7 separate regions of the Homo sapiens genome follow, and all the other regions are linked to region 7. The links are contacts of gene promoters, found by promoter capture Hi-C in human tissues and cell types (Jung and others, 2019). All regions are on one chromosome and are shown on one strand. The core of a region is centred on a gene start or on the middle of the fragment in contact, and the rest is flanking DNA. Distances in the headings are between cores, read along the strand shown. Region 1 overlaps GALNT13 (polypeptide N-acetylgalactosaminyltransferase 13). Region 2 has its middle 66 kb from the start of GALNT13. Region 3 overlaps GALNT13 (polypeptide N-acetylgalactosaminyltransferase 13). Region 4 overlaps GALNT13 (polypeptide N-acetylgalactosaminyltransferase 13). Region 5 has its middle 84 kb from the start of GALNT13. Region 6 has its middle 100 kb from the start of GALNT13. Region 7 holds the start of GALNT13 (polypeptide N-acetylgalactosaminyltransferase 13).

The links. The method cuts DNA at HindIII sites, captures the fragments that hold promoters and counts their contacts. A contact is called where the count stands out against the background at its distance.
Region 1: a contact is called between a fragment that was not itself captured here and the fragment with the promoter of GALNT13 in region 7, in 4 of the 25 tissues and cell types used here (H1 embryonic stem cells, heart left ventricle, mesendoderm cells and 1 more).
Region 2: a contact is called between a fragment that was not itself captured here and the fragment with the promoter of GALNT13 in region 7, in 2 of the 25 tissues and cell types used here (dorsolateral prefrontal cortex and hippocampus).
Region 3: a contact is called between a fragment that was not itself captured here and the fragment with the promoter of GALNT13 in region 7, in 5 of the 25 tissues and cell types used here (H1 embryonic stem cells, mesenchymal stem cells, mesendoderm cells and 2 more).
Region 4: a fragment that was not itself captured here is called in contact with the fragment with the promoter of GALNT13 in region 7 in 6 of the 25 tissues and cell types used here (H1 embryonic stem cells, adrenal gland, aorta and 3 more).
Region 5: a contact is called between a fragment that was not itself captured here and the fragment with the promoter of GALNT13 in region 7, in 3 of the 25 tissues and cell types used here (hippocampus, neural progenitor cells and spleen).
Region 6: a contact is called between a fragment that was not itself captured here and the fragment with the promoter of GALNT13 in region 7, in 2 of the 25 tissues and cell types used here (hippocampus and neural progenitor cells).

What each region holds. Positions count from the first base shown.
Region 1 is chr2:153,994,238-153,997,888 of GRCh38, reverse strand. All of the region lies in intron 3 of GALNT13 (polypeptide N-acetylgalactosaminyltransferase 13), which reads right to left. Among named protein-coding and RNA genes, the nearest start is that of GALNT13, 120 kb to the right of the region's middle. The HindIII fragment of the contact is 5,491 bases long and covers 1-3,651 here.
Region 2 is chr2:153,804,444-153,808,278 of GRCh38, reverse strand. It overlaps a transcript of GALNT13 not described here. Among named protein-coding and RNA genes, the nearest start is that of GALNT13, 66 kb to the left of the region's middle. The HindIII fragment of the contact is 3,834 bases long and covers 1-3,248 here.
Region 3 is chr2:153,974,570-153,978,791 of GRCh38, reverse strand. All of the region lies in intron 3 of GALNT13 (polypeptide N-acetylgalactosaminyltransferase 13), which reads right to left. Among named protein-coding and RNA genes, the nearest start is that of GALNT13, 100 kb to the right of the region's middle. The HindIII fragment of the contact is 5,725 bases long and covers 1-4,222 here.
Region 4 is chr2:153,943,026-153,946,697 of GRCh38, reverse strand. GALNT13 (polypeptide N-acetylgalactosaminyltransferase 13) reads right to left here. Exons shown (of 13, transcript NM_052917.4): 3 at 2,059-2,304. The coding sequence starts at 2,200. Among named protein-coding and RNA genes, the nearest start is that of GALNT13, 73 kb to the right of the region's middle. The HindIII fragment of the contact is 4,583 bases long and covers 111-3,672 here.
Region 5 is chr2:153,786,083-153,789,791 of GRCh38, reverse strand. It overlaps a transcript of GALNT13 not described here. Among named protein-coding and RNA genes, the nearest start is that of GALNT13, 84 kb to the left of the region's middle. The HindIII fragment of the contact is 4,836 bases long and covers 1-3,709 here.
Region 6 is chr2:153,768,456-153,772,680 of GRCh38, reverse strand. It overlaps a transcript of GALNT13 not described here. Among named protein-coding and RNA genes, the nearest start is that of GALNT13, 100 kb to the left of the region's middle. The HindIII fragment of the contact is 4,962 bases long and covers 1-4,120 here.
Region 7 is chr2:153,870,589-153,874,404 of GRCh38, reverse strand. GALNT13 (polypeptide N-acetylgalactosaminyltransferase 13) reads right to left here and starts at 2,483. Exons shown (of 13, transcript NM_052917.4): 1 at 2,102-2,483. The HindIII fragment of the contact is 9,874 bases long and covers 1-3,816 here.

The sequences.
Region 1 (3,651 bases), core at 1,119-3,618, 120 kb before region 7:
CATGTTCTCACAAATAAGTGGGAGTTGAACAATGAGAACACATGGACACAGGGAGGGGAACACCACACACCAGGGTCTGTCGGGGGCTCGGGGGCTAGGGAAGGGATAGCATTAGGAGAAGCACCTAATGTAGATGACAGGTTGATGGGTGCAGCAACCCACCATGGTACATGTATACCTATGTTACAAATCTGCACGTTCTGCATATGTATCCCAGAACTTAAAGTATAGTTTAAAAAAATTTTAAAAAGGAACTTAAATTGTCCCTGTTTGCAGATGACATAATTATATGTGTAGAAAATACTAAAAATACCACCACAAAACTGTTAGAACTAGTAAGTGAAATCAGTAAAGTTGCAGGGTACAAAATAAACACAGAAAATCTAGAAGCATTTTTTCTAAGGCAATAGCAAACTATGTAAAAAAGAAATCAAGAAAGTTACCCCATTTATAATAGCCAAAAATATCCCCCTAAGAATAAAGTCAATCAAGGGGGTAAAGGATCACTACAACAAAAACTATAAAACAGTAATGAAAAAATGCTAATGAAAAAATGAAGCAGACACAAATAAAAAGATATTACATATTTATAGATTGGAAGACTTAATATTATTAAAATGTCCATATTATCCAAGGTGATATATAATTTCAATGCAATCTTTATCAAAACACCAATGGCATTCATTCAAAAAATAGAAAAAGCAATCCTAAAGTTGTATGGAACCACAAAAGACCCAGAATAGTCAAAGGAATCTTGAGCAAAAAAACAAGGATGGAGGTATCCAATTACCTGATTTCAAAATATACCACAAACCCACAGTAACCAAAACAGCATGGTACTGACATAAAAACAGACACAAAGACCAACAGAACAGAATAGAGAAGCCAGAAACAAATCCATGCATCTCAGTAAACTGTCTTTTTACAAAGGTGCTGAGAACACACATTGGAGAAAGGACAGTCCATTCAATTAAAGAAAATTGGTCCCAGGAAAACTAGATATCCACACGTAGAAGAATGAAATTGGACCCTATCTCACATATACAAAAATGAACTCAAAATGGATTAAAGACTCAAATATAAGACCTGTAACTACAAAACTATTACAAAAAAGCATAGGGGAAACACTTCACAAAATTGATTCAAGAAGAATTTTTCAGATAGATCCTGAAAAGCACAGGCAATAAAAGAAAAATGGGCAGATGAAATTATGTAAAACTAAGAAACTTCTGCAAAGCAAACAGTCAACATACTGAAGTTACAGCCTACATAATGAGAGACAATATTTGCAAACTATGCATCTGACAAGGGGTTAACATCCAGAATATATGAAGAACTCACACAATTCAATAGCAAAAAAGAAATCCCATCCAAAAATGGGCAAAGGGCATGAATAGACATTTATCAAAAGAAGACATGCAAATGACCAGTAGATATAGGATAAAAACGCTTAACAACACTCATCATCAAAAGAAATGCAAATAAAAACCATAATAAGATATCACCTTATCCCAGTTAGAATAGCTATTATCAAAAATACAAAAGATAACAAATGTTGGCAAGGGTGTGGAGAAAGAAGAACTCTTATACACTGTTAGTTAGAATATAAAATAGTACATCCATTATAGAAAAATAGTATAGAAGTTCCTCAAAAAATTAAACATGGAACTACTATATGATTCAGCAATTTCATTACTGGGTATTTATCCAAAGAAAATGAAATCAGTATGCTGAAGAGATAACTGCATTCTCATGTTTATTGCAGCACTGGTCACAACAGTCAAGAGATGGAAGCAATTTAAGCATCCATCAACCAATGAATGGATAAAGAAAATGTGGTATTTACACACTGGAATGCTATTCGGCTATTAAAACCAGAAGGAAATCCTGTCATTTGTGGCAACACAGATAAATCTAGAGGATAAAATGTCAAGTGAAATAAGCCAGGTACGGAAAGGCAAATACTGCAAGATTTCACTAATAGATGAAATTTCTAAAAGTTGATCTCATAGAAGTGGAGAGTTGAATAGTGTTTAGGTAGAGGCTGAAGAGGTAAGGGAGAAGGTGGGAGTGGTAGGGTAGAGGTTGGTTTATCAAAGTTACAGTTAGAGAGGAAGAATAAGTTCTGATGTTCTATCACATAATAGGGTAACTTTAGCTAATAGCAATGTATTGCATATTTCAAGGTAGCTAGACAAAAAATCTTGAAAGTTACCACCACGGAGAAATGATCAAGGATTGAGGGATAGACATTGAGGGATAGATCAAAACTACACTGATTTGATCATCATGCAATGTATACATGTATTGAAACAACACACTGTACCCTATAAACATGTAAAATTATGTGCCAAATATAAACAAAAACTTTTAAAAAGAAAATTTAAATGATAGTTATGAAATAACTGAGAATATCTTTAAGTTGCCCCTGAGCTCCTGAGAGAAATGACAATGTCTAATTCTTATTAATTTACATACAACCCTTCTTTGGTTCCAAAATGAACAGGCAGTGGTATTTATTTTTATGTATAACACAGCACTGAGTGTAGAAAATTAAACATAAAATAAATGTTTTAATTAAAATGAACTGAGAGTTCAATTTTATTTATTAAATAGGCAAATCAAAGGCGTTGATTTTATGCATTTTAAACAAGTTATCAATATGTGGGTTTTACATTAAATACAAAAAAGCTGAAAACACGGAAAGTATTTAATATAGATATGCAAATGTTTATAACTAAACTATATTAGATGAGATCTAATCTAATTAATTGTTTCTTAGTTGTATTATTTCTTAGATGAAATCATCTAAGAAAGCTTAAATCTTTAATAAAATGGTGATATATATTTCTCAATAAGATAAAAAATATTGTCATGGATATTCTTACATTAGTATAGACACTTAAATTATTTGCATATACAGAAATTGTTGATCAACTCTAAAATAGTTTAGTTATAGGATCTAACTAAACTAAAAAGCTTCTGCACAGCAAAAGAAACTACCATCGGAGTGAACAGGCAACCTACAGAATGGGAGAAAATTTTTGCAATCTACTCATCTGAAAAAAAGCTAGTATCCAGAATCTATGAAGAACTCAAACAAATTTACAAGAAAAAAACAAAACAACCCCATCAACAAGTGGGCGAAGGATATGAACAGACGCTTCTCAAAAGAAGACATTTATGCAGCCAACAGACACATCAAAAAATGCTCATCATCACTGGCCATCAGAGAAATGCAAATCAAAACCACAATGAGATACCATCTTACACCAGTTAGAATGGCGATCATTAAAAAGTCAGGAAACAACAGGTGCTGGAGAGGATGTGGAAGAATAGGAACACTTTTACACTTTTGGTGGGACTGTAAACTAGTTCAACCATTGTGGAAGACAGTGTGGCGATTCCTCAAGGATCTAGAACAAGAAATACCATTTCACCCAGCCATCCCATTACTGGGTATACACCCAAAGGATTATAAATCGTGCTGCTATAAGAAGATGTGCACACGTATGTTTATTGCAGCACTATTCACAATAGCAAAGACTTGGAACCAACCCAAATGTCCATCAATGATAGGCTGGATTAAGAAAATGTGGCACATATATGCCATGGAATACTATGCAGGCATAAAAAAGGATGAGTTCATAT
Region 2 (3,835 bases), core at 82-2,581, 65 kb after region 7:
TAGCCTAATTTTACACACTTCAGTTTGCTGAACTATAGAATATTGCTAATATTGACTTTTTAGGTAGTTTCAGTATAGAATGAAATAATACAGAAAGCCCCCAAAAGCTGCCAGTATTATAGAAGAAAAAACATAGTCACATTTCTGTAACTTATATTTTAAACTGCCTATCACAGTATTAACTACAGCGCTTTGGGCTATTGCATTGACTTTGCACTTTGTTCCATGTGCTCCTAAGTGCACATTAAAGAGCCAGTGATGAGAAAGTTTGAAGTGAAGTTGATAATTCAGTTGAAAGTGGTTTCAGGTTAGTAACTTAGCTAGGCATTTATCAAAATCATATGAAAATTACCACTAAGAAAATAACCGAAGGCTTTAACTCATGCCTAAAACTGAATTCCTATAAATAAAGATCCAAAAAGTTATGAACTCACAGTAAACAAAAAGTCACAAAATGCACAAGGAAACAAAGTTTCATGGACAAATGAAATACAAGACAATAATCCCAGCGTCTCAAGACTATGGATAATGAAATTATCAAACACAGAATTAAAATAAATATTATAACACATTTAAAGAAATGTAATAAAAGCTTGAAGATATGAATACAAAACACTAAACTTTGAGGATAATCAACCTGATACTGTAAAATAACTCAGGAAAGAGGATGGGAAAAGGTCTGGCATACACAGCAAACTTCAAAGATATTGAGCTATATTTTAAACTAATGATGGGAGTTTTCATCACTGGTCTTTATATTTTTCATATTTTTATAAATATTTTATACATATACAATATCTAATAAAACAGTTAAATAATTGTGTGGCCATTCTAAGAAATATCATATGGCCATTCAAAAGGATGAGGCAAAGGTAGTTATCTAATAGAAAATGTAGCTTAGACATATTTTTCAGTGAGAAAAGGAAGTCAAAGGATAATATATATAGGCTGATTGCATTTCTATAAAAAATACATAAAAACCTTATTCAAGTTTATATTTATACATTATTGCATATGTACATGTATATATATATATGTCTATCTATCTAATATAAAAGGTTAGAAAAATATCTGGGAGGATATACATGAGTATGTCATAAGTGATAACTTATGAGAGAAGAGGGATGGGGTTGCTAAAAGAGGAAATTAACTTTTTATTTTGTGCTGTTACTACACGGATTGGGCATGAATAATGATGATGGTAAGTACCTTTGTAACCAACACGCAGATAAAGAACATTGCCAGCTACCTCCGAAACCCTATTCCTTCCCAATCCCCTTCACTTTTCCGCCTTCCCCATAAAGTAATTATGCTCTTAACTTTTATGGTAATCATTTCTATGTTTCATTATAATTTTTTTTCACCAAAGTGTACATCTTGAAACACTGTAGCTCTGTGGCATTGACTAACTTTTAAAAATTCAGCATGTTGTTAAGTTCCTTTCATCTACAGGTTCCCTTCTATTCCTTTCCCTCACTATTTACCTGTTGAAGAATCTGAATCATTTGGCCTACAGCATTAAAGAGTCTAAAGTTTACTGATTTTATACTCATGGTAAAGCTTTGTATGTTCCTCTGCCTATTTTTTTTTTTTTTTTTACAAATTGACAGGTAAATCCAGGCTCTTTATCAGACTCATGTTCAACCCCTTTGACATCATGATAATGATATTGATTTCTTTCCTAGAGAGCCACATAATTTGTGGTTGCCTTTCTTTCTGTGACATTGGCAGCTGTTGATATTCAATGCTTAAATTGATTAATTCAATGGGGATTGCAAATTAGTGATATTTCATTTATATAATTTCCCGCCTATATTTTAGTTAGAATATTATTATAAAGAGACACGCTTCTCCTCTGTTATTTATTCACCCAGTAGTATAAGATAAATGCTTTTTATTTCCCCTTATTGATCTGTTGTCAATATAGTATAGTAATGGATTTAAGTCAATTGCAATTATCCTTATTAAAGTACAAATTATTCTATCTTTGGCTAGTGGGAGCTTCTTCAAATTGTCTCCTTCTGACATAAATCTACTAATTTTTAACATTACTCTAGTAATCTTTGATAGCTTTATTACCAATTGGTATAACAAGATGTTTTAGACTTAGCTTGGACATTTGCTGCCGCAGATACATCATGAGACATTTTTCAAGCAATCCTAGTATTTTCATGAGAAATAGTATTTTAAGACTACCTGGATGTCAGATGCTAGGGATATACATTGTTTCTGAGGTGGTCATTGTTTCTAGGCTCTTTGGTAGGAAAGCTAGGAATATATACACATACATACACTATATATACACATACACACACTATATTATATATGTTTATATATGTATAAATCAGGATACTCTTAATTCCATATTTATACTTCCATTTCAAATTTAGTACTAGAGGCTTTTCAAATTAATCACATGTATTACACTTGTATCTGCTTTCTTCTTCATAAAGAATCAGAATCCTACTTTCAAAGGACAATGAATTACAGAATTAGTAAATCTCATAAGTACTAATTTTTCACACATTACATATACCATAGTTTTAGACTAACAATATTAATATCACCACATCCACTGAGAACTCTCAAAACTATTTTTACATATATTATTCCTATAATCCCCACCTCGCTTTTTGCTATAGTTGTACTACATCTACAGGGTCTGAGCATATTATATTCTCCTCCTTGTAACACTCATGTAGGATTCATTCTACAAGTAACTATATAGTTAACGTTCATCACTAGTTATGTCAATGTCTCTCTAGTCATTTTCATTGCCTAATCATTCCCTTTAGTAGATTCTTCAGAAAAGGAAACAATTTACTGAGTTTTTACATGTCACAAAAAGTTTGTCTGTGACCTTTATATTTGAAAATCAACTTTGCTAGATACAAAATTAGCGGCTCACATTTTAATTTCTTTAGTATTTTATTACTCAATTTCGTTTTGGAATAAATTATTGGTGTTAAAATTTTTGATGAAAATATAATTCTTTTCATTATATGTTACTTATTGTATTTTAGTATTTTTCTATACCCTTGCTTTGATTTTTTTGTCTTTAGAGATTCATATTATCTAAATGTTGAGCTTTCTTTGACTACCAATTGTTCTCATTTCCTCCTCAAACCTTTTCATTTCTTTTTAAATTTTTCTCATTTTAATATTCTGTTTCATAATTTACATTATATTCTATCTAACAATTCATATATATCAATCTATGTATACCGTAATTACATATATATTTCATAATTTATGCTCATTTACTCTTGTGTTTTATTTAGACTACTTTAATTTCTAAGTAATATTTTCTATGTAATAAACTTTTAGGTTCTGCCACTTATGTTCTAAACTTTTCTAATTCTTATTAACAGTGTTTCCTTTATTTTACAACCTTCTTGTCTTCTCACTAATTTAGAAAGAAAATGTAAAATTGCATATTTTATATAAGCCTGTCTTTCTGGTGTGCTTTCATTTTATGTAGACATGATTCTGCTCTTTATTTTCTTTTATTATAATAAAATGTATAGGATTTTACATTACACTTAAGTATCACTCATTTTTACATGAAATCAGTTACAATTTGTTTGTGTAGTTATTTCCATGTTATTTACTCTGAACTTCTTCAAAGAAAAAAAATAGTTAAACAGGTAAAAAATAAATGCACTCTTCCTTTTCACTTTTAATTAGTCACGAGTTTTTTTAATGAAAATGAAGGAAAGAGAACAGGAAAGCCATCAGATATAATGTTTTCACTAATAACTTTTGTCACCTTTCACTCATTCCCCTTTGTTAGAATTTTACTGGCCAGGTGCTGTGGCTCATGCCTATAATCCCG
Region 3 (4,222 bases), core at 1,446-3,945, 100 kb before region 7:
GCTCAATTTAATAGATAAAGAAACAAGATATTTTATTAGTCCATCTTCATGCTGCTGATAAAGACATACCCAAAACTGGGAAGAAAAAGAGGTTTAATTGGACTTCAAGTTCCACATGACTGGGGAAGCCACAGAATCATGGCAGGAGGTAAAAGGCACTTCTTACATGGTGGTGGCAAGAGAAAAATGAGAGAGAAGCAAAAGCAGAAACCCCTGATAAACCCATCAGATCTCATGAGGCTTATTCACTATCACGAGAATAGCATGGGAAAGACCAGCCCCCATGATTCAATTACCTCCCCAGGGTCCCTCCCACAACACATGGGAATTCAAGGAGATACAATTCAAGTTGAGATTTGGGTGGGGACACAGCCAAACCATATCAGACATAGAAAACTATGATACTTGACAAAGGTCACGCAAAACAAAGAGGAAAGCAAAAATTCATACCCAGGCTGAATGCAAGTAGAGATGATGATTCAAGGTTTCAGTCATAATGAAAATGTAGGAAACCTCTTCAATTTTCTGTCCTTATGCTACTATCTTAGTCTTTCAGGAAGTAGAAAGAAAGTTTCTGACCCTGAGGACCTGCAATCCTAGCATGAAAGCAGCAGTTTAGGGAATAAACAGACAATATTCTATCTTCTTATCTCTGAGAAATTTACCTTGCATTAAATTCAGTACCTCATTTGTAATGTTTTGGAAAGCATGACTATAATTAATGAAACAACATTTTTGGAAAAGCTATTAAATCTATTTTTCTAGGTGATAGCTGAGGCATGAATAGCATCCTCAAAGAGGAAGATTATCTACAAACAGCTGTAATTGAAGGCACTGTTTTTTTTAATGCAATAATTCCCAGGATTGAAAGATCGTATTTCTCTAGAATATTCAAGGAAGACTTCAATAGGTAGTGGATATGAGTATAGTCTTGAGAAGAAGTTAGAATTTCAAAAATTAAAAAGTTAATGAAAAGGGCATTTTGGACCTTAATTTTAAAATTTGAATGGTCATATGAATAACTCAGATATATTGTTAATATACAGATTCTAATTAAGTGGGTTTGAGTGGGACTTGAGATTTTGCATTTCTCTAAAATGCTCTGAGATAATGATGATGATGCTGGTTTGAGAACTACACTTCAAATAGTGATATGGTTTGGCTGTGTCTCCACCCAAATCTCTTCTTGAATTGTAGTTCCCATAATCCCCACATGTCGTGGGAGGGACCAGGTGGAGGTAATTGAATCATGGTGGTGGTTTCCCCCATCCTGTTCTTCTGATAGTGAGTTAGTGATTTCACGGGATCTGATGGTTTTATAAGGGGCTTCCCCCTTTGCTGAGCACCACCCCTTCCTGCTGCCATGTGAAGAAGGATGTGTTTGCTTCCCTTTCTGCTTTAAAGTTTCCTGAGGTTTCTCCAGCCTTGAGGAACTGTGAGTCAATTAAACCTCTTTCCTTTATAAATTGTCCAGTCTCAGGTATGTCTTTATTAGCTGCATGAGAACATACTAATACAAGTAGCATGGTAATGCTAGACATAAAATAATATGAGCAAGTATACAGGCATAAAAGAATCATTTATGCTTTGAATAAGTCAGTAGTACCCTTTCCTTGAGAGGCAGTTGATGGAAAGGTTTATTTAAGTCAAATTATAAAGGATTTTGAATGACAGCTTACTACACCTAGATTTTATGTCAAGCACAAAGCTTGCTTTCATTGCTTTCTCAAAGAAAAATATTCCCTTATTGACAAAAGCAATATTAAAAATAACTTAAAGATAAAATGATTTATCAGTTCAATTATGACTAGTATGCCCTCTATTATTAGAGGAGGTATAGTGCAAGTGCTTAAAAAATGTGTAGATGGAATTATTTCAATTATTATTTCCTAACTAAGCTCAAGTTTATTTTAAATGCATACCCATATCAATAATTTTTCATGTTTCCATATTAATTTTTTGCCAATTGTTACAAAAATATGCAAATTTTCTAAAAATATCAAATGTGCTGTGGGAATTAATCACTTAGTAATATGGAATTAAATGTATTTACTATGTTACTTATTATAAGTAACCCAACATAATCGATTGACAAAAAAATCTATTTCTACGAGAAAAGCTAAATGAATGGCTTTTGTTTTCCAAAATGAGCTATTACCTCAACCATTTATTATTGGTTCCAAATGTTTTATTCACTCAACCCATGATTCCAATATAGCTTGTTCTTTAGAGCAAAATTATTTTACTACTTTAACTGAAATAAAACAAATGTTATTCTGATAAACTAATACCTAATTGGCTTGGAAGAAAATTTAGGAACAGAAGACATCCAGATTTTATTATAAGGCTTGAAATTTGTGAATTTTGAAGGACTGCTTTACAAAGATAAAATTGATTGAAAATGATTCATGATTAAAATGGGTGCTAAACCTTAAACTTCAGTATCTTCATGGTAGATAAGACTCAGTTTAGGAACTACAGAAACCACATTTAGTTACATTGTAAAGCAGATTGATTAATTAATTAATTGATTGATTATTGAGTACCCATTATGTTCCAGCCAATGCTAATCTAAGCACTGAGGATAAAATGGCTAATAAGATATACAAATTTTCACTTTTATAGAACATATCCTCTACAGGTTGTAAACACAATAACACATACATACGTAAGACAAAATCAAAATATATAACAAGATAAGAGCTGTCATAAAATAAGGAAGACAAAATAATTTTGAAGTGGCAATGTCAGCTGGAATGGTCAGGTGAGGTATGTTGGGATGTGATATTTATTTATTTTTCTTTTTCCCCCAGCTTTATTGAAGTATAAATGACAAAGAAAAATTGCATATATTTAGGACGTGCAATGTGATGTTTTTATAGGTATACGTTGTGAAATCATTATGACAATTAAACTAATTAACATATCCATCACTTTACAGTTACCGTTTTTTTGTGTGTGTAGTGCTGTGAGAAGATTTAAGACCTACTCTCTTAGCAAATTTCAAGTATGCAACACAGTTTTCTGAACTGTAGCCACCAAGCTATACATCATCTCCCCACTTATCCTGTGTAACTGAAACTTTGGTTCTTTTGGCCAACAACTCTCTATTGAATCATTTAATGATGAGAAGAAAGCAGCCAAATTAAGAAGAATTGTTATTTTTTTTCAGTTTCATCCACGGTAGAGTGAATAGGTGATTAATTAACAAATATGTGTTGAAGTGTTAAATGAATGACTCTGTGGAAAAGCATTTTGAGTAGTTAAGAGTAGAAAATGCAAAGGGACTGATATGAACATAACTTGCAATTTGGGCAAATGAAAAGAAGGCCTGAGTGCAGAGAAAGGCAAGTGATAAAGAGAATGGGAGGTGATAAGGTTAGAGAGAGAGGCATGTGCCAGACCATGTAAGTCAGTAGTTCTCAGGTCAGGATGCATATTAGAATCAACTGAGAAATTTGGTAAAGCACCAGTAAAAAAGGAGCAGGGGTGAATGGTATCTAAGAAAAAGCATGTTTTCAAATCCTCCAGGTAAATGTGACATGTAATCATTGTTAGGAATGAATAATCACACATTTGAAGGCATGATAAGAAGGCCAAGAGATGCCATCACAGGGTTAATAATGAGGGTTAAAAAACATTAATGTCAAAATACATTTCCTTGAATTAAGAATAAAAGCTTTGCTGAAATTCTTTTTAATATTTCCTACCTAATTTGCTTATTTATACCCAAACACAAAGAAAACAACAAAGACAGTCATATGCAAATAAAGGAATGGGTATAAAATAATTTCCATTCTTTCTAATGATGCTACCCATATAATACACTAATCAAGATTGTGAAAGTTTCCCACTTATCACTTAAGAAAAAACATTCAGATTTCCTTCCTCTAGACTATTTTACATCACAAAGACATAGGGAGACTGTCAAAACCAACTTTCTTTTCCTTACACATGACTCCAATTTCCTAGGACCTAGTGACAGAACAAATAATAGGAAGCTTGAATTAGTCTATCTCTAAAAATCTTAATTCTTCTGGTAACCATGACTTCTGGAAATCAAGGCAGGAAGAATATCTCATTTATGCTTAGACTGATTTCCATCCTTCCTCTTCTCCAGAACTCTTCCTCCATTCCTAATAGCCCCATATCCACTTATTTTTTTACATAGCATTTATTGCTTATTAGCCTACTCTATAGGTTATTTGTTATATTTATTATC
Region 4 (3,672 bases), core at 1,153-3,652, 72 kb before region 7:
TGGGGGGTGATTAAGTCATGAAGGTGGAACCTTCATGAATGCAATTAGTGCCCTTATAAAATATGCCCCAGAGAGATTTCTCAACTATTCTGCCTAGTGAGGTTAGTGAGAAGACAGCTGTTTACAAGGAACAGCCCCTTATCAGACGTTGCATCTGCTAGCACCTTCATCTTGGAATCCCCAGCCTCCAAAATTGTAAGAAATAAATGTCTGTTCCTTGTTAGCCACCAAGTCTATATTTTTTTAACAACCTGAATGAAGTAAAATAACAAGTCTTATCAACAAAGAGAACAATAGTTTAATTTTACAATTTAAGTACAAGGAAAAGTTATTTTTGCCTTGCATTGTTAAATTTCACATTTTGAGATTTAAGACTTAAGGAGCATTAAGGACATAAATCAGCAAAACTGTACCTTTGTGTTACTGGCAGAAAAGGCTATCAAAGTTTTGCTGAATCAGATTATTACATTTTTTGTATGTGACCAACCTAGATGGTTTCCTTCAACAAATGACAGAGTGATCATTCCAAACTGATGTAATCCATCAAAAACACTTTTCTACATTCAGCCAAGCAGCAACTCAACTGATTCTGACAAAGAAGCTCAGAAGGCTGATTAATTCTGGGGTTTTAACTAAAGATCAGCAAATCATTCCCCATGTTCATTTGTCAAAAACATGGACTTATAATGTTCCCCTCTCAGAATAACTGAAGTATAAAGGCATAAAAAATGCATGTAAACTACCTAAATGGGTCTAGCATCAGTCACTTGCAAATTTTTTTAAATTATTTGTATTAGTCAAAATCTAAAATGCAAGTTCCATTTTAAAAGACAAGGAAGCGATTCAGAAGATTCAGAATTTCTCTAAATGAACAAGAGTATTTCTGTAATCTAAAGCAAACTCAACATGTCTAAAGTAATCTTTGATTTGCAATCTAAAGCAAACTCAACATGTCTAAAGTACTCTTTGAACAAAAATTAAATTTTGGAAATGCTCTTCTGTTTCCCTAAATTTCATGTAACCTGATAGTGTTAATGAGATTCTGTTTATTAAATATTTTGTTCAATAAATATCTCAAAAATATGTATAACATTAAAAGCAGATCATATTCATTAAATAAATGTAAATCTCAACTTGATAATTTAGATTCACTTTTCCAAAAGGTACAAACATGTCATGATACTTCAATTGAAGCTTGCTTTTTGTCATATTTATGCAGAAAACTTTTGCCAAACAGAGAATATGTTAGTTCAATGAGAATAAAACTAATTTTGAGTACTCTTACATATTTTAGAAGTATTGAATTTTCTAGGAATACATTAGAAATATATTTATAGATCTTGAAGTTAACAAAAAAGAAAGCATAGAGAAAACTGGAATAACTTCACAGAAAACAAATCTCTATGGCTTTACTTGATAAATAACCATTCATACAAATTATTATGTTTACATTCATATTTAGTCTTTGAAACTGGTCCCTCAAGAGGAAAATACTGAAATAAAGTAATTTTACAGTATACTTGAAATTATCTTTTTCACTTAACATACAGCCAGCAATCTGGTAAATCTGCATACCGCCATGTGTTTTGTTTTAAAAATTGGTTGTTTTATTTCAACTGTTTTGGAAGTCTTTAGCGGTGTCATTCATGCACAGTTCGTTTGCTAAAATCGCCACCTGTCTCACTTTAGTGGTTTTTCCGTTTTATGTTATGTGCTTGGTCTTTAAAGGCTTTTGGCTTCTAGCAGCCTAGATTTAAAATTCTGCCCAGTTTGAACGTTCACTCAACTGTTCTTTTCATACAGTCACAGAACACCAGAATTTATTAGGTTGAACGGTATCTTAGAGGTTAGCTAACTCTTCTTATTTCTTCCAAGAAGACGCCTAAGACCAAGAAAGGTAAAGTAACTTCCCCATGGTTAAACATGCATTAATAGTGCTGCCAAAATGCTCTTCTAACTCACTAAGGCAAAACTCTTCTGATTCTGAAGTTTCTCATTTTGTCAAGGCACCACTTTTCTCATCTCTATAAAGACAGTATTTGCTTCATAAGCACTTACCCCTCAATGCAGGCAGCAGAGATCTCTCCTTCTTGTCATCACATTTGTTACATTCACTGAAGTACAGCAGTAAGAAGACATCAACAAGAACCCACATCAGCGAAGTGGCTAGAACCACCTTGCAGTAGACAAATCTCCTCATGTCTTTCCTTGATTTCTAGTTAACACACAGATTGAAGACAAATGCTACTGTGATAAATCCAAGCCACACAGGTGAACTCCAAGATGAAAGCAGGATACATTCCACTGCATTAAAACAAAGAAGAAAATTTCATTAATTGTACACATAGATTTTTGGATAAAGAACATATAACATGAAATGTATGACTTATTTAATGTTCTCAAATATATCAGTACTCAAGCCTTCGAATCCAAAATTAAAAGCCTAAATAAATGAAAGTTGCTAGCAAGCTAGTTGGCTAACATTTTAATACCTAATACTAGATCTGCCACTACTCTGCCAGGCCCTTGACAAACTACTTGATTCCTTTAAGTTGTATTGTAATGAACTTAAAGTCATATCATGATATTCTTTATAGCTCCAGGTTGTCAAATAGTGCAATTCTGACTTTACTCTAATTCAGTACTTCTGACTAGCCAATAATTCTGAAATAGAAATCATCCTGGGATACAATATATTATAGTGGCTAAAATCTGGCCTTCATAGACAGACACGTCTGGGTCTGTACACCTCCTAAGAATAGAAGACTTTCTAAGCCACAGTTTTCTCATCTGTATAATGTGGATAGAAATGCCAAAGCTAAACCTCATTTGTTATGAGGATTATGTAGAATCATATTTATAAAGCATCTTGCAGAACAGATAATTAATAAAACATAAAACAGAGCTGGGCACGGCGGCTCACGCCTGTAATCCCAACACTTTGAGAGATCGAGGCAGGCGGATCACCTGAGGTCAGGAGTTTGAGACCAGTCTGGCCAACATGGTAAAACCACGTCTCTACTAAAAATACAAAAATTAGCCAGGCATGGTGGCACGTGCCTGTAATCCCAGCTACTCAGGAGGCTGAGGCAGGAGAATCACTTGAACCTGGTAGGTGGAGGTTGCAGTAAGCTGAGATCACACAATTGCACTCCAGTCTGGGTGACAAGAGCAAAACTCTGTCTCAAAAAAAAAAAATACATACATACGTAAAAATAAAATAAAATAAATACATAAAACAGAAAAAATTGTTCTCATATTCTTAAGTAGAGCAATTGCAAGACACGATCAATAATTACACAGCCTCTAAAATCCCAGCTGATCTGCAGAGAAAGTATCTACAATAAATGTGTGTTTAGAATAGATAGCACGCATCCAATTTATCAGGGGAAAAATATATTAACATAAATGATTTAAAATAATCAGAGCAAGAATTTAAAGGCTATAACAAAGATATGTACATAATTATTAAGAGACATTTTTCAAGGTAAGTGTAGAATGAATACCTTACACTTATTTGTTTTATTTATACTACATTGAGCATTTTATTTATACTACTACATTTGTTTAACTACCTGGTTAACCAACTTTTATCTATAAAGTAAGTAAATCAGACAAAACATATTCTGATATCATTTGTTACATTTTAAATAATATCGAGTAAAATGTAAG
Region 5 (3,709 bases), core at 282-2,781, 84 kb after region 7:
GCCTATAATTGTTATGTGTTTTTCTGGGGGGTTAGTGGTAAAATCTCCTTTATCATTTCTGATGGTGTTTATTTGGATCTTCTCTCTTTTCTTTGTTAGTCTAGCAAGTGGCCTATCTATTATATTTTTCAAAATACCATCTCCTGGATTTGGTGAATTTTTTAATACACTTTTGTGCCTTGATCTTCAGTTCAACTCTGATTTGGGTTATTTGTGATCTTCTGTTAGCTTTGGAGTTGGTTTGATCTTGCTTCTCTAGTTCTTCTACTTGTGATATTAGGCTGTTAATTTGAGATCTTCCTGACTTTTTGGTGTGGGCATTTAGTACTATAAATTTCCCTAGTAATACTGCCTTAGCTATATCCCAGAGATTCTGGCATGTTGCATCTTTGTTCTACAAGCTTCAAAGAACTTCTTGATTTCTGCCTTAATTATTTACCCAAAAAAAGTCATCTGGATCAGGTTGTTTAATTTCCTGTCATTGTATAGTTTTGATTAATTTTTTAGTCTTGATTTTATTTTCATTCTGCTGTGGTCTGAGAGTGTGTTTGGTGTCATTTCGGTTCTTTGCATTTGTTGAGGATTGTTTCATGTTTCAGCGTGTGGTCAATTTTAGAGTATGTGTCATGTGGCAATAAGAAGAATATATATTCTGTTGTCTCAGGGTGGAGAGTTCTGTACACATCTATCATATCCATTTGGTCCAATGTTGAGTTCAGATCCTGAATATCTTTGTTAATTTTCTGCTTCAATGATCTGTCTAATAATGTCAGTGGGGTGTTAAAGTCTCCCACTATTATTGTGTGAGAATATAAGTGTCTTTGAAGGTCCTTAGAACTTACTTTATGAATCTGGGTGATCTCGTGTTGGGTGCATATACATTTTGGATAGTTAGGTCTTCTTGTTGAATTGAATCCTTTACCATTATGTAATGCCCTTTTTGCCTTTTTTTGATCTTTGTTAGTTTAAAGTCTGTTTTGTCTGAAGTTAGGATTGCAACCTCTGCTTTTTTTCTGATTTCCATTTCCTCGGCAGATTTCCCTCCATCCCTTTATTTTGAGCCTGGGTGTCATTGCATGTGAGTTAGATCTCTTGAAGATAGCATACAATTGGATCTTGCTTCTTTATCCAGCTTGCCATTCTCTACCTATTAATTGGGGCTTTTAGCATGTTTACATTAAAGGTTAATATTGATATGTGTGGATTTGATCCTGTCATTGTGTTATTAGCTGTTTATTATGTCAACTTGTTTGTGTGGTTGCTTTATAGTATCACTGGTCTGTGTACTTAAGTGTGTTTTTGTAGTGGTTGGTAATGGGCTTTACTTTCAAGATTTAGTAATTTTTTTAGGAGCTCTTGTAAGGCATGTCTGGTGATAAAAAAAAAAAATTCCCTCAGCATTTACTTGGCTGAAAAGGATCTTATTTTTCCTTCAGTTATGAAGTTTAGTTTGGCTGGATATGAAAGTCTTGGTTGGAGTTACTTTTCTTTTTAAGAATACTGAATATAGGCCTGCAATCTCTTCGGTCTTACAGGGTTTCTGCTGAGAGGTATGCTTTTAGTTCGATGAGCTTCCCTTTACAGGTGACCTGTCCTTTCTCTCTTACTGCCTTTATTATTTTTTCTTTCATTTTGACCTTGGGGAATCTGATGATTATGTATCTTGAGGATGATCTATTTTTGAATGGGCCCAAGCCAGAGGTTTTCTGCATTTCCTGAATTTGAATATTGGCCTCCCTAGCTAGGTTCGGGAAGTTCTCATGGATAATATCCTGAAATGTGTTTTTCAAGTTGTTTGCTTTCTCCCTGTCACTTTCAGGGATGCTAATGATTTGTAGATTTGGCTTCTTTACATAATCTCCTATGTCTCAAATGTTTTGCTTGTTCCCTTCTGTTCTTTTTTATTTTTGTTGACTGTATTGTTTCAGACAGCGAAACTTCAAGTTCTGAGATTCCTCCTCAGCTTGGTTCCCTCTGCTGTTAATATTGGCAATTGCATTGCAAAATTCTTGTAGTATGTTTTTTGGTTCTATCAGATAATTTAGGTTCTTTTTTATACTACCTATTTTGTCTGTCAGCTCTTGTATTGTTTTATTGTGATTCTTAGTTTCCTTGGATTATGTTACAGTATTCTCCTGAATTTTGATTTTTATTCTTATCCATATTCTGAATTCCAGTTCTGTATTTTCAGCAAACTCACCCTAGTTAAGAATGCTTGTTGGAGAACTAGTGCAGTTGTTTGGAGGACATAAGACACTCTGGCCGATTAGTTGCTGGAGTTCTTGCATTGGTTTGTTTCTCATCTCTGAATGTGGGTATTTCTTTAAATGTCATATACATTGAGTACAGTCAGTAGGCTTATTTTCTGAATCTTCACAGGACTGAGCCTTTGTACAGGGTCTTTATTTGCAGCTGACTTATATTTGGTTTCACAGGGGGTTATGCTAGTGAGGTAGTTTTGGTGTTGAAGCTTTGAGGTGTGATCCAGTAGGTGGCACTTAAGTGTAGCGGTCAGTTGGTAGGCTTTTGCTCAGTTGTGTGGCTCCCCTATATTTCCTCACATTTGCAGTTGTTCTCCCTCTTGGTGCTCTGACAGTGTGGGCTCTCCTCCCATTTGAGTGCTGGACATAGATCACAGCTTAGTACTCCTGGGCTTCCCATCATATCTCTGGTATAATCTCAGGGTTTATGTTTTCTCCCCAACTTGGAGGCAGCAGAGGAAGGGACCTTAGCAGTGGTTGTGGCTGAAGGTCTTTTACTTGTCTCCTGGGAGCTCCACCCCAGGAGATTCAGGTTAGCAACCACTCAGCGTGATTAGCCCAAGATGGGGGTCCTGTGCTGTGGACCCGAGCCAGCGGTTCCCTGCCTATTTATGAACAGTGGGAGTGGGTGTTACCCATGGAAGATGGACCGGCCTCCTATCCTTGGATCAACTGCTACTTGTTGGAGGTGTGGACAGATACTTATGGTCTTTGCTCCTTTGTTAGTCTGAGGGTAGCAGGGGTAGTACCACTGCAGTGGCAGTGGCAGAGGGGCTTTCAATTGCCACTGGGGGTTCCACCTCCAAGGAATTTGGAGCCGCTGTTACTGGGAGTGTTCAGCCAGTGGGGTGGAGCAGCTGCACTGCTGGCATGAGCTTGGGGCCCTGCTTGTTGGGGAGGAGGGGGTCAAAGGCTCACCAGGAGGAGAGACTGATCTCCTCTCAGTATCATAATTGTGGGTTGCTGTAAGCTCAGTGTAGCCCTAGGCTCTTTGTTTCTTCCCCAAGGGCAGCAGGGATTAAAGTGCTGCTGTGGCAGTGGCAGAGGAGTTGTCAAATGCCTCTGGGAGCCTCTTTCTAGGAAAACTCTGGGCCACTAGAAGTGAGTATGCTCAGCCGTGTAGGGTGACTGGTCCACAGTCATGAGCCAGGAGTCCCAACTGGCGAAGAGGGGCTGGACTCCTCTCCAAATGGTGGCTGCAGTGTGCTGGAGGTGTCAGCGTAGTGACTACGCACTTTGTTCTTTGTTCTTTCCCCATCCCAAGGACTGTTAGGGTAATAAATACCACTGTAACTGCAGTGCCAGAAGGGTTGTTGGTTGACTCTGGGTTTCCTCTTCAGAGAAATGCTGGGCTGCCTCTGATTGAAGTGGTGAGTTACAGGCAGGGTGGTTGTGATGGAGTCCCATATCAGGCAGCCCTGCCCAGTGAGAAGTGAGGAATTGCCCCT
Region 6 (4,225 bases), core at 390-2,889, 100 kb after region 7:
AAAGCTAATAAAACCTTTTTTTCCCCAGGATGGCGTACTAGAGGCTTTTAGCATGTCTCAGCCACTTGGAAATAGCAAAACAGTGCATAAAGATAAACTCTTTGAGCTTTAATTCAAGAAGGAAAATGAGAATTCACTGGAATAGTGAGCAACAACCCAGATCTCAGGGAGGAGAAAGTGGGCAAGCAGCCCCGTGATGGCATTCAGCTGATAAAAGTGAGAGAAGCACCAGTACATGAGGAAGCAGAGTCTCCTGCTGTGATTCACCTTCCCACTAGGGTTCCATGCAACCCAGGCCAAGAGAGAGCACCTAGTTCCTCTGAAGCCCTGGAGAAAACTTGAGGAGACAGGCAGAGGAAAAGATAATGGGAAAAGCTGTAGGCATTTTCCGATGCCCAGAACTGAGAGGAGGAAATCATTTTCAATTCAGGCTTATAGAACATCAGTCGTTGTTTGGTGACCTGGAAGCGGCAGCCACTGCAGGCATTTTGGTCAAGGGCCAGAGATTGGAGTAGTTGCTCTGCATTGGAGGACTAATGCTCACAGCCAGAATTGAATGGCAAGTGTGGAGAGCACCTCAGTGGTAAGCACTGGAATCAGCTCTCTCCAGTCACAAGACTGCAGCAAGAAGAGTTGCTCAAGCCAAGATTTAATCTGGGATTTGCAGCCAGAGACAGATTTGTGACTTGGAACCAGCCTACATATGCCATTGCTGGGTGCCCCGGACTGCTCCCTTGGTCAACCAGGGTAGAGTGCCCCACTCTAGTCCTGCTCACCTGAATTGGGAGTATGGTCCAACCCATCCTTCTCTTGCATCTGTGTGCAGTGAACCTCTCTCCACCTCACACCCAGGCATATTCCCAGGCATTTGGATCACCCACTCACTTGGATTAGTAAGTTTTTGCTCTTTTTCTGTGCAGAGATTTTGGGGCACTGGAGTCCTCTCCGCTTTATGACTAGACATATTTCCAGGCATTCAGCACACACCTGCTCACCTGGATTATCAGCCTGAGGTGCCCCTCCTTTTTCCTACAAAATCTTTGTTGTAGCAGTGATAACTTCCCGTCTCACAGAGGGACACATTTCCAGGCAATCGAAGTAAACACTCACCTGGATTGGGAGACTGAGCCACCCTAGATTAGGAGACTACACAATCCCCTTTGCAGAAATCTTGGTGCAAAGGTAAACTTTTTGCTCCACACCTGGATATATCTCCAGGTTTTTGGTGTACCTACCTTCCTGGAATAGGAGCCTGAGGTACCATTTCCTTCCCATGCAAAGGACTTGGTGCAGTGGCACTTCTTCTGCTCCACACCTGGATGTAACTCCAAGCATTTAGCACACTCACTCTCACATATTAGGTGTTTGAGCTGTCCTGACCTTCCTATACAAAGATCTTGTTGTGGTGGCAGTTTCTCTGCTCCTTCCCTGGGCATATCACCCACCTTGAGACACATCTGCCCCCCAACCAGATTAGGAACTTAAGTATTTTCTCCCATCCCCTGTAAAGCCCATGTAACAGCAGTTTTTCCAATCATTGCTGGGGCATATTTCCATGTATTAGGCACATATACTTGCATGGATTAGGAGCCTGAGCCACCTTTCCTTTCAGTTGCAGAGATGTTAGTGCAGTGGTGTTCTTTCCGCTTGACACCCAGACATATCTCCAGGTGTTTGGAGCACCAACTCTTCTAGATTAGAAGTTTAGGCCACCCCCCTTCCCATGCAGAGAACTTAGGGCAATGTAGGTCTTCCAATTCCATGCCTAGGCACACCTCTAGGTGCTTGATGGCTATCCACAAGACCACACCTCAAAGATGGTGCCTATGCCTACCATTTGGGAACCTGTAGGTGGGTCTGCCTAGCTCTGCCCCAGTCATCTTGGTCCTTCCCTCCAGGGCTGAGCACGGAGCTCAGACTACTGTGCATTACACAGATCAGCCCATTGTCTGAGACAATAGAAAATTTCTCCCAGTAAACAAGGAATAAGTATACATACCTATGTGTATCAGCTGTGACTGATGATGTAGATGGGTATATACTTGATCCTTGATGCAAATGAATATATACTTGATCCTTGTTTACTGGGAGAAGTTCTCTGGCTCTTACCCATGAGCACCACCCACTGGCCTCGAGGAGAAACAGCATAACACAATAGGAAATCTTTCAACACCAGTGCGTAGCACTGGGTAGCAAGATAAGCTTCCTGATACCAATATCGCTTCAGCCTCATAGGTGCCAGTGAACCTGCTCATATGCCTAGAACATGACTACTACAACCAGAATTTAGAAAAGGCACTATGAAAGGGCTATCTATAACCAAGGAACTTAAAAACAGACTCTTGGTCACTGAAAGCAACCAGACCAAAGTCAAAGGACCATAGACAACATACATTATAGCCACCTCCACAATGAGGGGTAGGGTGGGAAATTTCATCCAAATGAAATCTAACTCAAAAAATAAGGGGAGATAAATTATCCAGAGGAGAAAAAGCCGGGGTGTGGGGGGGCGGGGGGGTGGGAACTCTAAAAATAGGAAAAAAACAAAGTGTCACAATGCCTTCAAGGCACTACATTAACTCTCCAGCAATGGATCTTAACCAAAATGAAATGTTTGAAATACCACATAAAAAACTCAAAATGTTCATTTTAAAGAAGCTAAATGAGATTAAAGAGAAAGCTGAAAAGCAACACAAATAGATCACAATAGCAATTCAGAATATAAAGAAGAGATTGACATCATTACAAAAAGACTAAACAGAACTCCTAGAAATGAAAAATCCATTAAAGGAATTACAAAATACAATTGAAATATTTAACAATAGGCTAAATTGAGTGAAAGAATTTCAGAGCTGAAAGAGAGGCATTTTGAATTAACTCAGACAAAAATGAAGAATTTTAAAAACTGAGCAAATCCTTTGAGAAATATGGTACTGTGTAAAGTGTTCAAACTTATGAGTTATATGTATTCCAGAGGGAGAGGAAGAAAAAAGTAAAAAAGTATGGAAGATATATTTTAGAAAATAATTCAGGAAAAATCTCTTGGCTTTTGGAAATATTTAAATATTCAGATACAAGAAGCTCAGAGAACTCCTACAAGATACAATCCAAGAAGAACCACACCAAGGCATATGATAATCAAACTATCCAAAGTCAACAGGAAGGAAAAAATGCTAAGAGTGGCAATAGAGAAGCATCATCTGTAAAGGAAATTCTATCAGACTAATAACAGATTTATCAGCAGAAACTCTGTAAGCCAGAATAGCTTAGGAGGTCATTTTTAGCATTGGGGTGGGGGAGGGGGAAGCTAGCCAACAGCTTTGTATCCTGCCACACTAACCTTCATAAATGAAAAATAAATAAAGTCTTTTCCAGACAAACAAAAGCTGAGGGAATTTGTCACTACTTGACTGGCTCAGAGAGGTTGTAAAGATGGAAATGAAGGGATAGTATTCACCATCATAAAATAACACTTAAGTACAAAAATTACAAATCCTAGAAAACATTACATACAACTGAAATGCCAAAACAACTAGCTAACAACACTATGACAAGAACAAAATCCCACATAATAATATTAACCTGGAAGGTAAATGGCCTCAATACTCCTAACAAATACAGAGTAGCAAGTTGGGTTAAAAAATAAGTCTCCACCATTTTCTGTATACAAGAGACAGGTGTAATGACTAAAGACAGCTACAGATTCAAAGTAAAAAAATAGAAAAATATATATAACACAAATGAAGAACAGAAATGAGCCAGAGTAGCCATCCTTACATTAGATAAAACAGATTTTATTTTTTATTTATTTTATTTAGATGGAGTCTTGCTCTGTCACAAAGGCTGGAGTGCAGTGGTGCGATCTTGGCTCACTGTAAGCTCCGCCTCCTGGGTTCACACCATTTTCCTGCCTCAGCCTTCCGAGTAGTTGGGACTACAGGTGCCTGCCACCATGCCTAACTAATTTTTTGTATTTTTAGTAGAGATGGGGTTTCACCGTGTGTTAGCCAGGCTGGTCTCAATCTCCTGACCTCATGATCTGTCCCCCTTGGCCTCCCAACGTGCTGGGATTACAGGTGTGAGCCACTGTGCCTGTCCCAGATTTTAAATAATAGTAAAAACACACCAAAGAATGCATTATATAATGATAAACGTTTCAATGGAACAAGAAGATTTAACTATTGTAAATATGTATGCATCTAATACTGGGGCACCCGGATTCAAA
Region 7 (3,816 bases), core at 1,234-3,733:
CTTAAGCCCTGGAATGGGATAAGCATCACAGAAATGGTGAAATAAAAGCATTTATTTAAACAAGCAGAAGCAGCCAGGAAAATTCTCCATGGAATTGAAGGTGGATAGGGGCTAAAGGAGAGATGTGAAATCCTGGTTTATGGCAAACAGTGCAGAGAAATGCATCTTTTTAATGTTCAAAGTCTGCCTTAGGCTACGCAAATTCTCCAGACCTATCCAATTCCCAAATCAAACGAACAGGGTTTCAATATGAAGGTTCTTATTCTGCAGGAGACGTGGGGAAAGAAAAAAAAAAAAAAAACAGAGATTGCGGGAGGGGGGTGCGGGGGGAAAGAAAGATTAGTAATGTAATGCAAAAGTCATTCTTTGAGGAAAAGGAAAGGATGCGTGTAATACAAGGAGAATTATCCCGGAAGGTGAGAGGTCCAAAAGTAAATAACCAATAGGTTGACCTTACTTTTCAATATTCTCGAACCAGCAGGTTTCTTTAACACTAGAGGGCATGAACGCAAACGAGACAGAGAGAGAGAGACAGGGAGACAGCGAGAGAGAGAGACACAGAAAAAGAGAGAGAGAGAAAGAGAGAGAGACGGACTGAGACTCTGAGGAAAGGCAGCTTTCACATAAAGCTGAAAATATTCAAGGATACCAGAAATTTCAAGGGGGCTTTGGCAGCCAAGTGCCTTTAGCCTTGCGAATAAAACCTCTATGTTGTTATGTTGTTTCAGGGAAGGCTGACCACGATCTCTCCAAGGAAACCGCTTTCCTAAGCAATGAATGCATGGTAGTTTAAGGCAGGCATACCTCAGTCCCCAAAGCTCCTCTCCTCTGCTAGCAACACCTTTGCCTGAAGAAAGCTCCCACCCTTTCGAGGTTAGTTTCCCTGAACCCCAAAGCATCTATGTTTGCCTGCTCACTGTCCGTTCTTCTGCAGCTGGCTATAAAGGTTGGGGAGGCAGACTCTCCTCCTGGAAATTCAACTAACCATAGTCAAAGAATCGGGTATGCGGGAGGGGCTTGCGCAGCTTTCGCTGTCCAGAGTAGCAGCCTCAGTGCGCTCAGGTTCGCAGCAGCGCAGCGCCCTCGGACCCGGCAAGGGGAGCCTGCTGCGGTGCCCTCCACTCTAACCCCTTGCGCCCCTCCTTCAGGTCCACGACAGCCTGGACAAGGGCAGGCTGTCTCCTCCGCGTCCCCACTGACCCCGCAGGAAAATCTCTGCACCTGGAGATACCCATTAGATGCGCCAGGGCTTGCTCCCCTAACCAAGGCGCTTCGGGATCGCGGGGCTGGTGTTCGGGAAGACGGGGCAGAGAGATGACAGAGGGAGACAGAGATAAGCTGCGAGAAGCAGACACAGAAAGAGAACAAATGTTGCAAAACGGAGAGACAAAAGGAAAGACAGATTAACAGGGACACAGATATCCCAAGAAAGAAAGAGGGAAACAGAATAAGAGAAAAAAACAGATACATGGCCGGAGAGTGTGGACTGAGGGGACCAAGGCTCAGAAAGAGAAACAGAGGCAGAGACACACACGGCGAGAATGAGAGGCAAGAGGACTCTGAAAAAGCGAGGCAAAGGGGGCACTATACGAAGGCAACCGTCGAGGAAGACACCCAAGACCCAGGGAGCGCCTGGTGTCGGGTCGAGTAGAAACGCCCGCAACGCAGCCGGGGCTGCCTGCAGCTGGTGCGAGAAAGTTGTCTGGGCTTGGAGGCCGAGCCACCCCCGCGGAGGAACGTCACCAGAACGCAGAGGGGGCCAGAGCCGCTCCCCCCCCCCCCCCCGCCACCAACAACTCACCGGGGTAGCCAGAAAAGCAGAGCAGAAGGTGGGCGGCGGCAGAAAGTTCCGCGCCACGCGGTCCTCCCGCAACACCTGCAGCCCCGCAAGCGAGCGCACTCGGAGCTCCCGGGAGGCCGCGTCGCCAGGTCCGCCCGCGCCCCTGCCTTTGCCCTGGGACCGGCCCGGGGCGCTCGGCTCCGCGCCCCGGCACTCGCCGCGGGACTTTGCGGCACCTAGCCCCGGCACTCTGGCAGCCCAGAGGGAGCTCGTCCCAGACAATCAAGAGGAAAAGAGGGGAAGCGAGAAAGAGACGGAGACCTGCTATCCTGGCCAACGATCCCGCGAAGAGGGAACGGCGGTCCACACACGGGATTCAGCCTCAGATCAAGCCCAGCAGGCGCCGGCCGGCCGCGCCGAGTGCGGGGCTCGCCGAGTCCGCGCTCACCTGGAACCCGCGCCGGCCCGCGAGCGCCGCGCGCAGCCCCGGCTCCCGCCCGCGCCTCTCTCTTCACACTTGCCCGCGAGCAGAGGGAGCCGGCTCCAGCCTCGGCCAGCCCCAGAGAGGGGCCTTCATAGCGCAGCGGCGGGCTGAAGGGCTCCTCGAGCGCGGCCAGAGCGGACGCTGAGGCCGAGGAGGCGCCCAGAGCGAGCGAGGGCTGCTAGCACGTTGTCACCTCAGCAGAGCCGCCGCCGCCTGGTCACTTCTCCCCGGCCCCCGCCCCCCTCCCACCCCAGCCCGCCGCCTCCCGGTCCCTCCTCCTCGCGTGGTCCCTCCTCCTCTCGTAGCCCCAGCCTGGAGGCCTCTCACTGGGCTAGTATCATTTACGTAACCAGCACCCCCAGCCCTCCTCCCTCCCTGCTCCCGCTCCTCCCCGGGCTGGGGCGGTGCGCACCGAGCGCGCTCCAGCTGCTTCTGGAGCTGGCGCTTCTGCGATGTGCGCAAGTCCCGCGATACTTGGCAGGCACGGCCCCCAAGAGCAACCCTGGGGTCAGCTCCTCTCGCCGGAGGGCGCCTCGCGACCCCTGGCCGCTTTGGGGCCCCACAACGCCAAAGCCGGCCTGCGTGCACCGCGTTCGCCCAATGCACCAGGGAGCCTCTTAGAGGGGAGCTGGAGGATCAGAGACTGCCCTCGGGGAAAGCGCCGGCAACCCCACCCTTGCCGTCGGCTCTCCAGCCGAGAGATGCTGCGGGGTACTTGACGCTTCGGCGCCCTCCGCAGAAAGGACGGAGGTTGGCCTCTTGTTGGTTACAGTATCTACACCCTGGCAGGATCCTAGTGTTCTGGTTGGCGGTGACTACTGCCACCGAACGCACTGTAAGAGTACTGGAAACACAGAGCGCTTCCTTGTGGCTCTCAAATTTTTATGAAGAGGTAAAGAAAAAAGTGGGGCTTTGAATTCCTTTCTCAGGCAAGTAGGTATGATATTAAACACACACCCACTCCGAAGTACCTGGACGTATGAATGTCTCAGTTAATGTGTTGTACCAATACCCCCATGGTACTGAGTTTAAATACATGTAAAGATTTTAGAACAGTGCCTGGCACAAGGCAGAAACCTAAGACGCAGACATTATTAGCGTCTCAAAGACTTGGGACCTGTCCCCCACTGCCATGGGAGAGGAACTTTTCTAGGAAATTGGGATTGCCGAGTTCAAGTGCCTGCTTGGCAATTTATTCACTGTGGCTCTTGGCTAGTTTTGGCCCTTCGGGTGTCAGTTGTCTTGTTTGTAATAAGGGCTGACAGGGGTCCTTGCTTCTCACAGTGTCACTTCACACATCTTATAGGATGTTTTTGGCAGAATTGGGGGAGGATATAACGACTACATAAAAATATTAAACAGCCACGTTTGACAAACATATGATACTATTAATCATAATCTAGTATGTCAATGCCATTCTTGATTATACTCATGAAAGGCAATTTCCAGAGATATTATCTTTATATCTTTTCGTGAGTCAAGTATCATTTAAATTTCTATGTTAATAACTGTATTAATGTCTCCTCCTACATTGTCCATCCTGCCCTACCGT